Linked DNA regions of Homo sapiens: region 1 is linked to region 2. Evidence: promoter capture Hi-C in human tissues and cell types (Jung and others, 2019). All regions are on one chromosome and are shown on one strand. The core of a region is centred on a gene start or on the middle of the fragment in contact, and the rest is flanking DNA. Distances in the headings are between cores, read along the strand shown. Region 1 has its middle 67 kb from the start of MPHOSPH6. Region 2 holds the start of MLYCD (malonyl-CoA decarboxylase).

Region 1 (7,520 bases), core at 514-3,013, 1.7 Mb before region 2:
GAAATGAAAGAGGAGCAGAGTAAGATGATTGACCTAGTTCTGAAGAAAGGGAGGTGGTCAACCTCAGGGGATGGGCTGGGAATTGGGCCTATAAGTCTCCCTTCCACTTTCTGTCTTCTCTACCCCATTGTCCCTTCCATATTTTCCTCTTAAAAAAAAAAACACTATGGGCTACATTCCAGAAATGGGAGTATGCTAAGGTGCCTAGGCATGTACATCTGTATCCATACCTATTCCCATAAGTACACCTATACCTATACCCACACCTATCTATTTGTACTGATTGGTATTAGGCCAACAAAATTGCCAATACATTTGTACTTACAAAATATCAAGGTTTATATAAATATGACAGACTAAAAACCAGTATTGCAGTCACAGATTTTATTGTCTACTGGGTAATATACAACTCTGTAAGAGTGGAAGGCCGTGCATTAGTTGAGCCATCCCCCTGATTTTGTACCTAATGTTCTTTCAAAAACTTGTGCAAAAGTCAGCTATGAAACTTCAATGAGATTACATGTGGGTTCTGTTACTAGAGAGCTGAAAAACATTCTAACGTCCCTAATTACACCTTAGCTTTTAGGCATCATTCTCGATGATTTATACATTCCATACAAGGTCTTTCATTTTATTATTTCCTTTCAAAATAGAGCACAAGTTTGACCAGCTTGAAGTCAATGAGCATCTGATTGAGGCTAATGACTTACCACTTTCCACAGGCCTAATGATTTCTATCTTTGTCTCTATTGTATTGAGTTAATGAGACCTATGCTTATGCCAGGAATCAACATTCATTTTTCTTTCTCCACTCATTTTTGTAAACTAATAAGAACAAATGCAATAAAATAGTTGTATAATTGCACAAACATTGCTTTACCTTCAAATATGGAGATACTACTAAAATGGAAATATTAATTGGCTAACAATGCTACTGTGAAACAGCCAAACATCTACAAATATGAAAAAGCTGATGAAATGTTTGTAAGCTGAATGCATGGAAATTAAACAGTCCATATGTAGTTTTATAGTTGGCTCTCGATTGTATACTATGTGTACAAAAACTAGGGTCAGGATCTAGAACTTCTAATTCCGAATGTGCTCATTAATTTACTTGGCAAATATTTATTGAATTTGTTCAATAAAATTGAACTAATACCAGATAGGCCTGGAGCATCTTCTGTGCCAGAATATAAAAGAGTTCTCAAAAAAGCCCCACAAAAATTAGCATATACTCTTATATGTGATATACTGTACTAGGTGGTAGCACTCTGTTTCATCTGATCCTGAACTAAAACCCTTAGTGACAATCCTCTGATTCTGACTTGTGTTTCGTCTTTTTTGACGCTTCTGATGAGCTCTTTGGCTTTGTGTCTGGTGGTTTTTGCATCGGTGCTGCTTTTGGAAGAGGCTTTCTGGTTGTGACATCTGCCTACTTGAATTCCTTTGTCTAGGGGTAGGAGCCAGGCCATTTTAGAGTCCAAGCATTTCTGCTAATGTGGCTGCATTACTCTGCAAAGTGGGCAAGGAGAATTAAGAGAATCTGTATTGAGTGACAATGTCAAATGGATACAGACCCTACAGCCAAGCATCAAAATTTAGCACTCTTAAGTGATAACCAAATGGTGAGGGAAATGTTTTTTTTCTCCCTCTACTCGTGTGTGTGTGTGTGTGTGTGTGTGTGTGTGTGTGTGTAGCTGATGGTCTGGTAGGAAAAAAAAGCCACTCTGTCATTTGTGAAGTGGCATGGAAAATAAGTTTTCTCTATAGGGAGAGCTTGGGTGTTTGGAAGTCAGCACTGAGGTAGAGTTTGGTGCACAGGATGTTTATCAGATATCAGCACCTGTTGAATGGAGGAGAAAGAAGCCTGGTTGGGTAGAGGGAAAAGTTGAACTGTAATGTAGGTCTGGCAAAGCTTTGGCTGACTCCAGGGAGAGCTCTGAGCATATGTTCTTCATCGCAGTTGACCCTGATGTACTAAAACGGTCGGGCCTTTACAACACCCCTCTATCAATCACTGAATGTGCGTTGCCCCAGGAAGAATGTGCCCTTGGGAAAGGTAGCTCTGTGGCTGAGGCAGATCCTGAAAGAAATGATAACTGGGGTAACGAGTCTTTCCTTGATGGGAGATCTGGTGGGGACACATGTCGATATGACAAAAGTTCTTAGTAAACTGAGAATAGAGGAGAACTTCTTCAGCTTGATAAAGAACATCTAAAAAAACCTACCACTAACATTATATTTAATAATGAGAACTGGGTGTTTTCTCTAAGTTTGGGAACAAAGCAAGGATTTTTTTTCTCACCACCCCTAATCAACATTGTACTGGAAGTCTTTTGTAGTGCAATAAGACAAGAAAAGGAAACAAAAAGTATACAGATTGAGAAGGAAGAAATGCACCTATCTCTGTTCTGTATATTGTCTATTTAGAAAATCACAAAGAATCTACTAATCAATAATTATGGCAAGATCACAAAATATAAGGTAATATATAGATGTCAATTGCTTTCCTATACCAGGAACGGATGATTAGAATTTGGAATAAAAAGATAACAGATATTAATAGTGCCCCCAAAATGAAATACTTAGGTATATATCTAACAAATATGTATAGAATCTCTATGTGGAAAACTATAAAACTCTGACATAAGAAATAAAAGATCAAACTGAATAGATAGTCCGTGTTCATGGATTGAAAGACTCAATATTATTAAGATGTCAATTCTTCCCTACTTGATGTACAGATTCAATGTAATTCCTATCAAAATTCCAGAAAGCTGTATTTTAGATATTGACACACTGATCTAAAATTTATGTGGAAAGGCAAATGACCCCCAAAAACCAACACAATGTTGAAAGAGAAGAACAATGTCTTACTGCAAGACTTGCTACAAAGCTATAGTAATCCAGACGGTGTGATATTGGTGGAGGAACAGACAAACAGGTCAATGGGACAGAGTAGAGAGTCTAGAAGTAGACCCACACAAATATAGCCTAATGATTTTTGACAAAGGAATAAAGGCAGTTTAAGAGAAAAAGGATAGTCTTTTTAAGAAATGGTGCTGAAACTATTGGATGTCCATATGCAAATCAAAACCAAACCAAAACAGAAAAACCCAACCTAGACACAGACCTTACACCTTTCACAAAAATTGACTCAAAATGAATCATAGACCTAAATATAAACCACACACTTGTAAAGCTTCTAGAAGATAATACAGGAGAAAATCTACGTGACCTTTTATTTACCAATGGGTTTTTAGATACAATACCAAAAACATGATTTATGAAAGAAAAATTGACAAGTTGGACCTTATTAAATGAACAAAGTCTGAAAAAGTGGACTTTTAAGAGCCACTGTTAAGAGAATGAAAAGAAAAACCACAGATTGGGAGAAAATATGTATAAAGCTTATGTCTGAAAAAGGGCTTGTATCCAAAATATACAGAGAATCCTTAGAACTCAGCAATAAGAGAACAAAAAACTCAATTTAAAAAGGGACAAAAGATCTGAATGATCACCTCACCAAAGAAGATATACAGATGGTAAATAAGCATATGAAAGAATGCAAACCATCATTTGCCATTAGGGAACTGAAAATTAAAATAATGAGATATCACTACACCTCCTAGAATGACTAAAACTAAACAAAGAAAACCACCCGATAGTACCAATTGCTGGCAAGGATGTGGAGCGACAAGAATGCTCGTTCATTTGTGGTGGGAACGTAAATGGTACTGTAGCTTTGGAAGACAATTTGGCAGTTTCTCGTAAAGCTAAACACAGTGTTACCACACAATCTAGCAGTACACTCCTAGTTATTTCTCCAGCTGATCTGAAAACTTATGTTTACACAAAAGCCTGCCTAGAAATGTTTGTAGCAGCTTTATTTATAACCACCAATAACTGGAAGCAACCAAGATGCGCTTCAATAGATGAGTGGGTAAACTGTAGTCCACTCATTCTATGGCATATTATGCAGAGAGATGAAACTTAAATGCATATTGCTAGTTGGAGAAAGCTAGCCTTAAAAGGCTACATATTGTTTGATTTCAATGATATGACATTTTGGAAAAGGCAAAACTATAAAGACGACACAAAAATAAATGATTGCGAGGGGCTTGGGTGAGGGGAAGGGAGGGTTGAATAGGTGAAGCGTAGAGTTTTCTTTTTAGGGCAGTGATATTATTCTGTATAATACTATAATTGTGACAAATAAGATTATGTATCTATCAAAATCCATTGACCTTTAACACACAAACAGTGAACCTTAATGTACACAAGTTTAAAAAAGCATTTAGGAAGTCATGGAAATTTAGGATGGAACATAGACTGTGACACAACAGTCTAACTGTATCACAGTATGTGAAACAATTTCACTGAAAGGAGTTGGGGAACAGGTACTGACCTAAGTAACTTTGGAAATGAGTGGAATTTGTAAAACTAGAGGCAAAAGAATTATTGTATTTTAGTTGATAAATTTGTATCTCATGGGAGTGTGGGTTAGCAATTCAGATGCTTTTACACATCTGTATTGGAATTGAACTGATGTCAGCTTAATAGATATGGATAGTTACATGAAGAAATATTTGTAGGTATGTGTATGTACTTGAGTTGGTATACACACATATATTTCCTTGCTTGTTCAGCTGAGTGGGCCTAGTGTCAACAATGTCCCAGTAGCAACCAGTGCACCTGGTACCCAGATTATGGGTACCAGGAAGCTAGGTCTTCCTGGATTTAAAGACTTGGAGCAGGAAATACACCAGATAAGCCTGGAGCATCTTATGTGCCAGAAAGTTCTAAAAAAAAAAAAAAGAAAACCCACATTTAGTTCTTTAAGGAATTTCCATAATGGGTGTAGTAGTTTACATTCTCACCAGCATTGTAAAAGTGTTCCCTTTCACCACATCCACACCAATATCTACTATTTTTTGATTTTAAAATTATGGCCGTTCTTGCAGGAGTAAAGTGGTATTGCACTGTGGTTTTGATTTGCATTTCCATGATAATTAGTGATGTTGGGCTTTTTTTATATGTTTATTGGCCATTTGTGTATCTTGCTTTGAGAATTTTCTATTCATGTCCTTAGCCCACTTTTTGATAGGATTATTTATAATTTTCTTGCTGATTTGTTTGAGTTCCTTGTAGATTCTGGATATTAGTCCTTTCTCAGATGCATAGTTTGAGAATATTTTCTCCCAGTCTGTGGGTTATCTGTTTACTCTGCTTTTTATTTCTTTTACCATGCAGACGTTTTGGGTGGGAGTGCGTGATGGATAAAAGACTGCACACTGGGTACAGCATACACTGCTCGGGTGATGGGTACACCAAAATCTCGGAAATATCTTCTTTAGTGAGGTAATCGTTCAGATCTCTTGCCCATTTATAAATTGGGTTTTTTATTCTCTTATTGCTGAGTTCTAAGAATCCCCTGTATATTTCGGGTACAATCCCTTTTTCAGAAAATTGGAAATAATCACTAAATAACTTATCCATGTAACCAGACACCACTTGTTCCCCAAAAACCGACTGAAATAAATAAAAATCCCACAAAAACAATCCCCACCCCAAAACTCTCCCCCTCAAAACAAAGCAAAACAAAACAAAAAACTCCACAACAATTGGGTGTGTCAAAGAGACATAGAAGACAACTGCAAGAGCTCCCAATGGCCAACTGGGGACAATGTGCTCTATAAAATAGAGTAGTATTGGATTATAGCCCAAGGTATGAAATCAATATCCATGCATTCATACTGATGTAAATAAATGATTAAATAAACAAATAGATGGGGGGGATACACAAATATCCTATGCAGAAGAAATGCAAGTAATTTATGTAGATACTCTTTGCTCCAAGGGGTTGGAGCATGGCTCCCATTTCTTTAGTGTGGGCTGTGCATTGTGACTTCTTCAAAAGAGTGAAGTCTGGAAAGGAGAGGAAGGGGAGTGTAACTTTGCATTGACAAACCTGGCAAACACGTCCTCAGTTGGAAGATTAAGGTCAAAATTAACAGTGACAAATTATGTTGATAGCATGCACCTTTGATATGATGTGATGAGAATGTCACTTTACCTCTGTGGTCTTCTTCTCTGCAACCTTGGTTTAATCATGAGAAAAAGATCAGACAAATTCCAATTGTTTCACATTGTACAAAATACTTGACCGCAACTTAAAAACTGTCTAAGTCTTAAAAAACAAGGAAATTCTGTGAAACTGTCATAGCAAAGAAGAGCATGGAGAGACATGTTTGGGTGGGATCCTGAAATACTGAAAGAACATTGGATGAAAACTAAGGTAATCTGAATAAAGTGTGGGCTTTGGTTAATAATAATGCTTGAATATTGATTCGTTAATTATGTCAAATGTACAATGCTAATGGAAAATGTTTATAATAGGGGATACCTGGTGTGAGGTTTAGGGGAACTTTCTATACTGTCTTTGCAATTTTTTCTGTAAATCTTAAGCCACTCTGAAATATAAAGCTTATAATTAATTAAAAAATGCACGCCAGACATTGTTCTAGGCACTAGTATGGGTAAGACATGCCCCTGTCCTCAAAGAGCTCAAGTTAGTGAGTCCACAAGGTATGTGAAAATACAGTCTAGTATTCACGTCAGAGACATGGGCAAAGGGTTTTGGAAACCTAAAGTTTAAAATGAATTGTCTTTAAACCTAAAGTTTAAAATGACTTCTAACCCACATTTTGTGAAAAAGTTAATGTTCTTCCTAAAATGTGAAAAGCTGATTGGGGGTGGTGGTGATCTTATTTCTAGGACCAGGTTTCTCTTGCTGATGAGCTCATTCCCATCTCATCTCCCACCGTGTATTATTTGCTCACATTCATGCATACCAGACAGGGTACTCATCCTGTTTCCTTCTTTTTTGCCCATGGACGTGTATTGTCAGACTTTATTGAAGATGGAAGATATAAAAGATGTTTATGAGTCTTAAATACAAAAATCTTTAAAGTATAGATTTGAGGCTCTGTTCTTTAAATTTCCTTGACCATTCCACCACAAAGAACCTCTCACCAGCACTCCAGTCTGCAGGCTCCTGCTTCCTGCCAAGAGTCTGGTCCCATCTCACATCCCTTGCCAACCTCCAATATTCTGGATGACTTCTTTTGCAGCTAAGTTTACTGTTCTGTTTATTTCTTTTCTCCCTTACAAGGCAGGTTTGGGATCTCACCTTCTTCACTCAAAGCAATCTAGCAAAGTTGTTTCTTAATAAAGATGAGTTCTTCTAAAAAAAAAATACCCAAACAAATAAAATAAATACATAGGTGCCAACTGTTAAAATAGTAGTTTCTTCGTTCGGCTACACTAGATCAGTAAACAAATGATGTGTTTCATTTGGGAGAGTTGTTAAGAAGAAGGAAGTGCCTGTTTTTTTTTCTTCTCTCTTGGTAGTTCTCAGACCACTTTACTTTCATTTGGTCTGTTGCAACACCCCAAGATGGCAGCCTCGTACTTCAGTTCTGTGTGATGTTTTGGATCAGCTCTTTCTATTTGACTCA
Region 2 (6,779 bases), core at 3,903-6,402:
GCGCCCACCACCACGCCTGTGGTGTACAAAAAATACAAATTTGTTGTATTTTTTGTAGAGATGGAGTTTCACCATATTGGCCAGGCTGGTCTCGAACTCCTGACCTCAGGTGATCCACCTGTCTCAGTCTCCCAAAGTGCTGGGATTACAGACGTGAGCCACCACACCCAGCCTGATTTTTCTTAATACTTAAAGTAGACATCTTTTGGGACAACTGCCTAGCCCACACCCCTCTTGTCCGAACACTGTGTCCCCACCCAAAAGGCTAAATCCCTAACATCTCTGAGGGCTCCGTGTTATCCTGTATCCCAGTCTAGCCCTGATCCAAAGTGAACCAATCAGATTCTCTCTACTGAGTCTTTGAAACTGGTAGAGCAATGATAATGCCTCCGAGGTAGTTTTTTTTGTTTGTTTTTCATTTTCTTTTGAGATGGAGTCTTGCTCTGTCGCCCAGGCTGGAGTGCAGTGGCCCGATCTCAGCTCACTGCAACCTCCACCCACCGGGTTCAAGTAGTTCTCTGCCTCAGCCTCCTGAGTACCTGGGATTGCAGGCACCTGCCACTACACCTGGCTAATTTTTGTATTTTTAGTAGAGACGGGGTTTCACCATCTTGGCCAGGCTGGTCTTCAACTCCTGACCTCGTGATCTACCCGCTTCGGCCTCCCAAAGTGCTGGGATCATAGGCGTGAGCCACCGCGCCCAGCCAGTTTTGTTTTTTTTTTAAGACAAAATACCCATAACATAAAATTCACTATTTTAGCCATTTTAAAGTGTGCAAAGCAGTGGTTTTTAGTATATTCAAAATGTTATGCTATCATCACCACTACCTCACTTCACACCGTTTTCATCAGCCCAACAAGAAACTTGTGCTGATAAGCAGTCTTTCCCCTCTCCCCATCCCCGACCCCACACAGCCCCTGGCAACTACAGATCAACTTTTTTTCTGTCGCTAGGGATTTGCCTGTTTTGTACATGTCATATAAATGGAATCATACAGCACATGGCCGTTTGTGACTGCCTTCTTTTTGCTCAGCACAGTGTTTTCAAGGTTCATCCATGTTGTAGCAGGGGCCAGGGGTTCATTTGTGTTTATAGCTAAATAATACTCCGTGGTATGGTGAGACCGCCTTTGGTTTACCCCATCCATCCACTGATGAACACGTGGGTTCTTTCTACTTTTTGCTATTTTAAGTTACATATTAGGAAAATGTGTGCACACGTTTTTGTGTGAATGTATGTTCACAATTCTCTTGGGTACCTAGGAGTGGAATTACTGGGCTCTATGGCAATTCTCTTTGACTTTTTGAGGCACTGCCAAACTGATTTCCACAGTGGCTGTATCATTTAGCATTCTCATCAGCGGAGTATGAGGGTTCTAATTTCTGTACATTCTCACCAGTTATTCTGTTGTTATTATTATTGCCATCCTAGTGGATGTGAAGTGGTAACTCGTGGCTTTGATTACATTTCCCTAACGACTAATGACGTTGAGCATCTTTTTATGCACTTACTGGCCATATATATTTACACATACACATACATACATATACACACACACACATATATATATACATACACATATATATATATACACACACATATATATATTTTTTGGAGAGATGTCTATTCTAATCTTCTGTCCATTTTTAATTAGGTTGTTTGTCTTTTTATTGTTTAGTGGTAGGAATTCTTTTTTTTTTTTTTTTTTTAAACAGAGTCTCGCTCTGTTGCCCAGGCTGGAGTGCAGTGGCGCGATCTGGCTCACTGCAAGCTCACCCTCCCGGGTTCACGCAATTCTCCTTCCTCAGCCTCCTGAGTAGCTGGGACTACAGGCGCCGGCCACCACCCCCGGCTAATTTTTTGTATTTTTAGTGGAGACGGGGTTTCACCGTGTTAGCCAGGATGGTCGCGATCTCCTGACTTTGTGATCCGCCTGCCTTGGCCTCCCAAAGTGCTGGGATTACAGGCGTGAGCCACCATGCCCGGCCACAATTCTTTATATAATCCACATAAAGACCCTTATCAGATATATGATTTTCAAATATTTCTCCCACTCTGTGGCTCATCTTTTTACTTTATTGATGGTGTCCTTCAATATATAAAAGTTTCTCATTTTGATGAGGTCCAAGTTATCTATTATTCTTTTGTTGTTTGCACTTGTGACGTCATATTTAAGAAATAATTGCTATTCCAAAGTCCTGAAGATTTACACCTATTTTCCCTTCTAAGGATTTTATAGTCTTAGCTCTTACATTTAGGTCTTGGATCCATTTTGGGTTAATTCTTCTATTGGCTGTGAGGTAGGTAGGGGTCCATGTTTGTTGTTTTGCTTGTAGATGTCTAGTTGTCCCCGTCCCATTTGTTGAAAAGACTCACTTTTACCCACTGAATGGTCTTAGAACCCTTGTCAAAAATGAATTGACCAGGCTGGTCACGGTGGCTCACGCCTGTAATCCCAGCACTTTGGGAGGCCAAGGTGGGCGGATCACGAGGTCAGGAGTTCGAGACCAGCCTCGCCAACTTAGTGAAACCCTGTCTCTACTAAAAATACAAAAATTAGCTGGGTGTGGTGGCACACACCTGTAGTCCCAGCTACTCAGGAGGCTGAGGCAGGAGAATTACTTGAACCTGGGAGGCAGAGGTTGCAGTGAGCCGAGACCATGCCACTGCACTCCAGCCTGAGTGACAGAGTGAGACTCTGTCTCAAAAAAAAAAAAAAAAATCAATTGACCATAGATGGGTTTATTTCTGAATGTTCAATTTTATTCTATTGATTTTTGTGTTTTATCTTTCTGCCAATACCACATTATTTTGATTACTGTGGCTTTGTAGTAAGTTTGTTCTTTTTAAAGATTGTTTTGGCCACTCAGGGCCCCTAGCATTTCTATATAAATATTAGAATATGTTTTTCTATTTCTGCAAAAAAAAAAAGGGCAGTGAAATTTTAATAGGGATTGTATTAGATCTGTAGGTTAATTTTGGGAGTATTGCCATTGTATTAGTCTATTCTCACGCTGCTATAAAGAAATACACGAGACTGGGTAATTCATAAAGAAAAGAGGTTTAATCGGATTATGGTTCCACAAGCTGTACAGAAGACGTAGTGGCTTCTGCTTCTGGAGAGGCCTCAGGAGGCTTCCATTCATGGCGGAAGGCAAAGGGGGAGTGAGGAGCTTCACATAGCCAGAGCAGGAGAGAGGGGGTGGTGATGCACACTTCTAAACAACCGGATCTCCTGAGAACTCACTGTAGGGTACCAAGCGGGGATGGTGCTAACCCATTTATGAGAACTCTGCCCCTATGATCCAATCATTTCTTACCAGGCGCCACCTCCAACACTGAGGATTACAACTAGACATGAGATTTGGTTGGACACAGATCCAAACCATATGAGCTATATTAACAATATTACATCTTCCAATCCATGAACCATGCATGGACCATTCCATTTGTTTAGGTCTTCTTTAATTTCCTTCAATACTGTTCTGTGGTTTTCCATCTACCAGTCTCACACTTCCTTGGTTAAACATGTTTCTTTTATCCCTTCAGATGTTGTTGTAAATAGAATTGTTTCTTTAATTTCATTTTTGGATTGGGGCAGTCTTTTGAAATAAGGACATGAGTGGGAAAAAGCAGAGGATGGCTGTTGACGCCTAGAGAAAAAAGTATAAACACAGAGAAAAAAAAAACAGAAGCCAGAAATTACATAAAAAGGAAGGCACCGGGAAAGATGAGAAAGAACAGGGTTGTGGGAGTACTACACTTAGCAAATGCTTAAGCAAAGTCAAGCTTTCAAGACAAGATTCCTAAAGCAAGGCAGGAGTATCCTAGGACAGACAAAAGCTCACTCGACAAGGCAAAGAGACAAACACCAGAGTTTGGACCCCACCAACTCCCTTAGCCAGCTGGCAATATGGTTTCACCACTTCTTAGAAAAGAGGAATGGAGAGGTGTCCTCAAAAGCCACCACTAGGCTTTCAGAATGTTTTGTGTGTCTGTGTCTTGGCAGAATGAGCCAAACGTACTTTCTTCGTGCCCCATAAGATGAGACACACCCAGCAAAGGCTGTCCTCATACAGAACTACCTCCAGGTGTCTTTTATACTGCAAGACCTGCACCAAAGGGTTCTACCTATAGAAATCCTAGCACCTAGACATAGTCAACCAAGTACATGGCTCCCTCACCCTCCAACCAAAGATGCCATATTTCCATCAGAGTGGAACAAAATCCCACTGTGTTCCTAATGCCTCCTGCAATTTTGCATGTGGGAGACATGGCTGGTATGTGACATTCTCTTCTACAGATTGTAATGGATTGGGGAAGGAGGGGGAACTAGAGTTCAGGCCTATCTTTCTAGAGGACAAAATAAATATGCCTTGATAACTGCAATTATCTGAAAACTATTTCAAAGAAAACTCTTTGTCTCATTCTGGCATTTGCTCAAGGGTATGGCTTTCCATCAGTCTCTCTGTCTCCATGTCTCTTTTACATACATATGTATGTGTATATGCGTGCGTATGTGTACATACATCCATACATATAGACATATTCTCTCTCTCTCCACACACACTCACACACCCCTCCAACCTCTGTGGCTCTGAGCGTCATGTGTGTAAGACACTGACGCGAATGGTGAGTGCCTAGGCAGGGGTCAAACAAAGGCTACCTACCATGCCAGAGGATTGCCACAAACACCTCTTAAGCAAGCATATTCCTTGGCTCCTCCCAGACACACTGAATCTGAATCTCTAGGATTCTGATTTCGGAGCCCAGGAATCCTCCGGTGCAGGAGTTCCCAGGTGACTCTGATGCACCGGGAGGCTGGAGGCGCTCGGATCTAGAGAGGAGGCGGCACTTGTGCAGTGCAGTCGGGAAAGAGAGGAGGGGCTGGGCCGGTGCCTTTAGGCGGTCAGGTGTTAGGACCGGAGTACAAGCCGCCAGCCGCGCGGGAGCAGGCCCCGAGGCAGCCCAGCCGCGGGGCAGTAACCTTTAGCCACACTTGGCCTCCGGCCGCCGCCAGAGCCGCTCCGCCCCCGCCGCCTCGCCCCCACCGCCCCGCCCTCCTATTGGCCGCGTCCCCAGCCGGGCTCGCGGCCTCGGCCAATGGGGCCGGCGCGCGCCGGAAGCCGGAAGCGCGGCAGCGGCGGCGGCGCTCCCCCTCGGCAGCTGTTGTGGGGCACCATGCGAGGCTTCGGGCCAGGCTTGACGGCCAGGCGTCTCCTCCCGCTGCGGTTGCCCCCGCGGCCGCCCGGGCCCCGGCTGGCGAGCGGGCAGGCGGCCGGCGCCCTGGAGCGGGCCATGGACGAGCTGCTGCGCCGCGCGGTGCCGCCGACGCCGGCCTACGAGCTGCGCGAGAAGACACCGGCGCCCGCCGAGGGTCAGTGCGCGGACTTCGTGAGCTTCTACGGTGGGCTGGCCGAGACGGCCCAGCGGGCCGAACTGCTGGGCCGCCTGGCGCGGGGCTTCGGCGTGGACCACGGCCAGGTGGCGGAGCAGAGCGCCGGCGTGCTCCATCTGCGCCAGCAGCAGCGGGAGGCGGCGGTGCTGCTGCAGGCCGAGGACCGGCTGCGCTACGCGCTGGTGCCGCGCTATCGCGGCCTCTTCCACCACATCAGCAAGCTGGACGGCGGCGTGCGCTTCCTGGTGCAGCTGCGGGCCGACCTGCTGGAGGCGCAGGCCCTCAAGCTGGTGGAGGGGCCGGACGTCCGGGTAAGGGGCCGCCGTCGATCCCCCGGCAGCGCGGACTGGCCGCCCTCCTCGAGTAGTCCTCACTTGCCCCCTCCAAGTCCCACACACCCCGCCTTCCCTGCCCGATAGCACGCTCACTTCGCCCGCAGTTACCGCCTGCCAACTGTGTCCCCTTCCCACGCTGTCTGAGTCCTGGCCTCGTCAGAGCACACCCCCGCCTTCCTCCAGTCTGTCCTTGAAGTCCTCACTTGTATAGTGTTTACTAAATACTCAGCACTTGGTGGTCTTTAAGGTAGCTGTCACCTCTCGTACCTGATTAGTGTGTGCTCTACAGTCTTTTGAAATTATTGTAGCTGAGAAGTGTTTCATCTATATGGTATACCTGAACTAGAGCATCAGGCAGCCTTCTGAGACCCTGGATGGTGTTTCAGAAGTTCACTGGGCACCCGCTATGTGTGAGACATTGTCCTGAGAAGTCCTGTGAAATGCACAAAGGTAAATAGGACTCAAGGTCACCACCACCACCCAGGAGTCTCCATGGCTTCTGGCCTTGTCTGTGCTCCATGACTTTTGGGAGGGCATTTAACTCCCTGCGTTCAGTACTTAATGTGATGATTCTGAGTTGACTTGAGGTAATCAGGCATTAGCACAGTTCATTCATGTTAAATGCAGACACATACTTTGAGATTTAAATGATTATGACCCGAAAGAAGGCCTAGAGCAACATATACTCTTCTTTTATACTGTTAGTATTAAATACGGCGAAAAACTAACCTGCCCTTTTTTTATTTTTATTTTTGTTGCCCAGACTGGAGTACAGTGGTGTTATCACGGCTCACTGCAGCCTCGACTTCCCCAGGCTCAAGCAATCTTCCCACCTCAGCCTCCTGAGTAGCTGGGACTACAGGTGCAGGCCACCATGCCCGGCTAATTTTTTTTTTTTTTTTTTTTTTTTGTAGAGAGGGCGTTTCACCATGTGGCCCAGGCTTAACCTGCCCTTTTAATGAACGAAAAATGACGTAAATGTTTCAGGAAGTTTTGGACATTCAGAAGTTTGTTATGTGCAGTTGGTGTTAAAAAAAAATTGAAC

The links. The method cuts DNA at HindIII sites, captures the fragments that hold promoters and counts their contacts. A contact is called where the count stands out against the background at its distance.
Region 1: a fragment that was not itself captured here is called in contact with the fragment with the promoter of MLYCD in region 2 in 1 of the 25 tissues and cell types used here (dorsolateral prefrontal cortex).

Annotation. Positions count from the first base shown.
Region 1 is chr16:82,233,469-82,240,988 of GRCh38, forward strand. No RefSeq gene overlaps it. Among named protein-coding and RNA genes, the nearest start is that of MPHOSPH6, 67 kb to the left of the region's middle. The HindIII fragment of the contact is 3,085 bases long and covers 222-3,306 here.
Region 2 is chr16:83,893,963-83,900,741 of GRCh38, forward strand. MLYCD (malonyl-CoA decarboxylase) reads left to right here and starts at 5,153. Exons shown (of 5, transcript NM_012213.3): 1 at 5,153-5,710. The coding sequence starts at 5,183. RefSeq lists silencers at 4,923-5,352, 5,653-5,822. The HindIII fragment of the contact is 9,996 bases long and covers 1-6,779 here.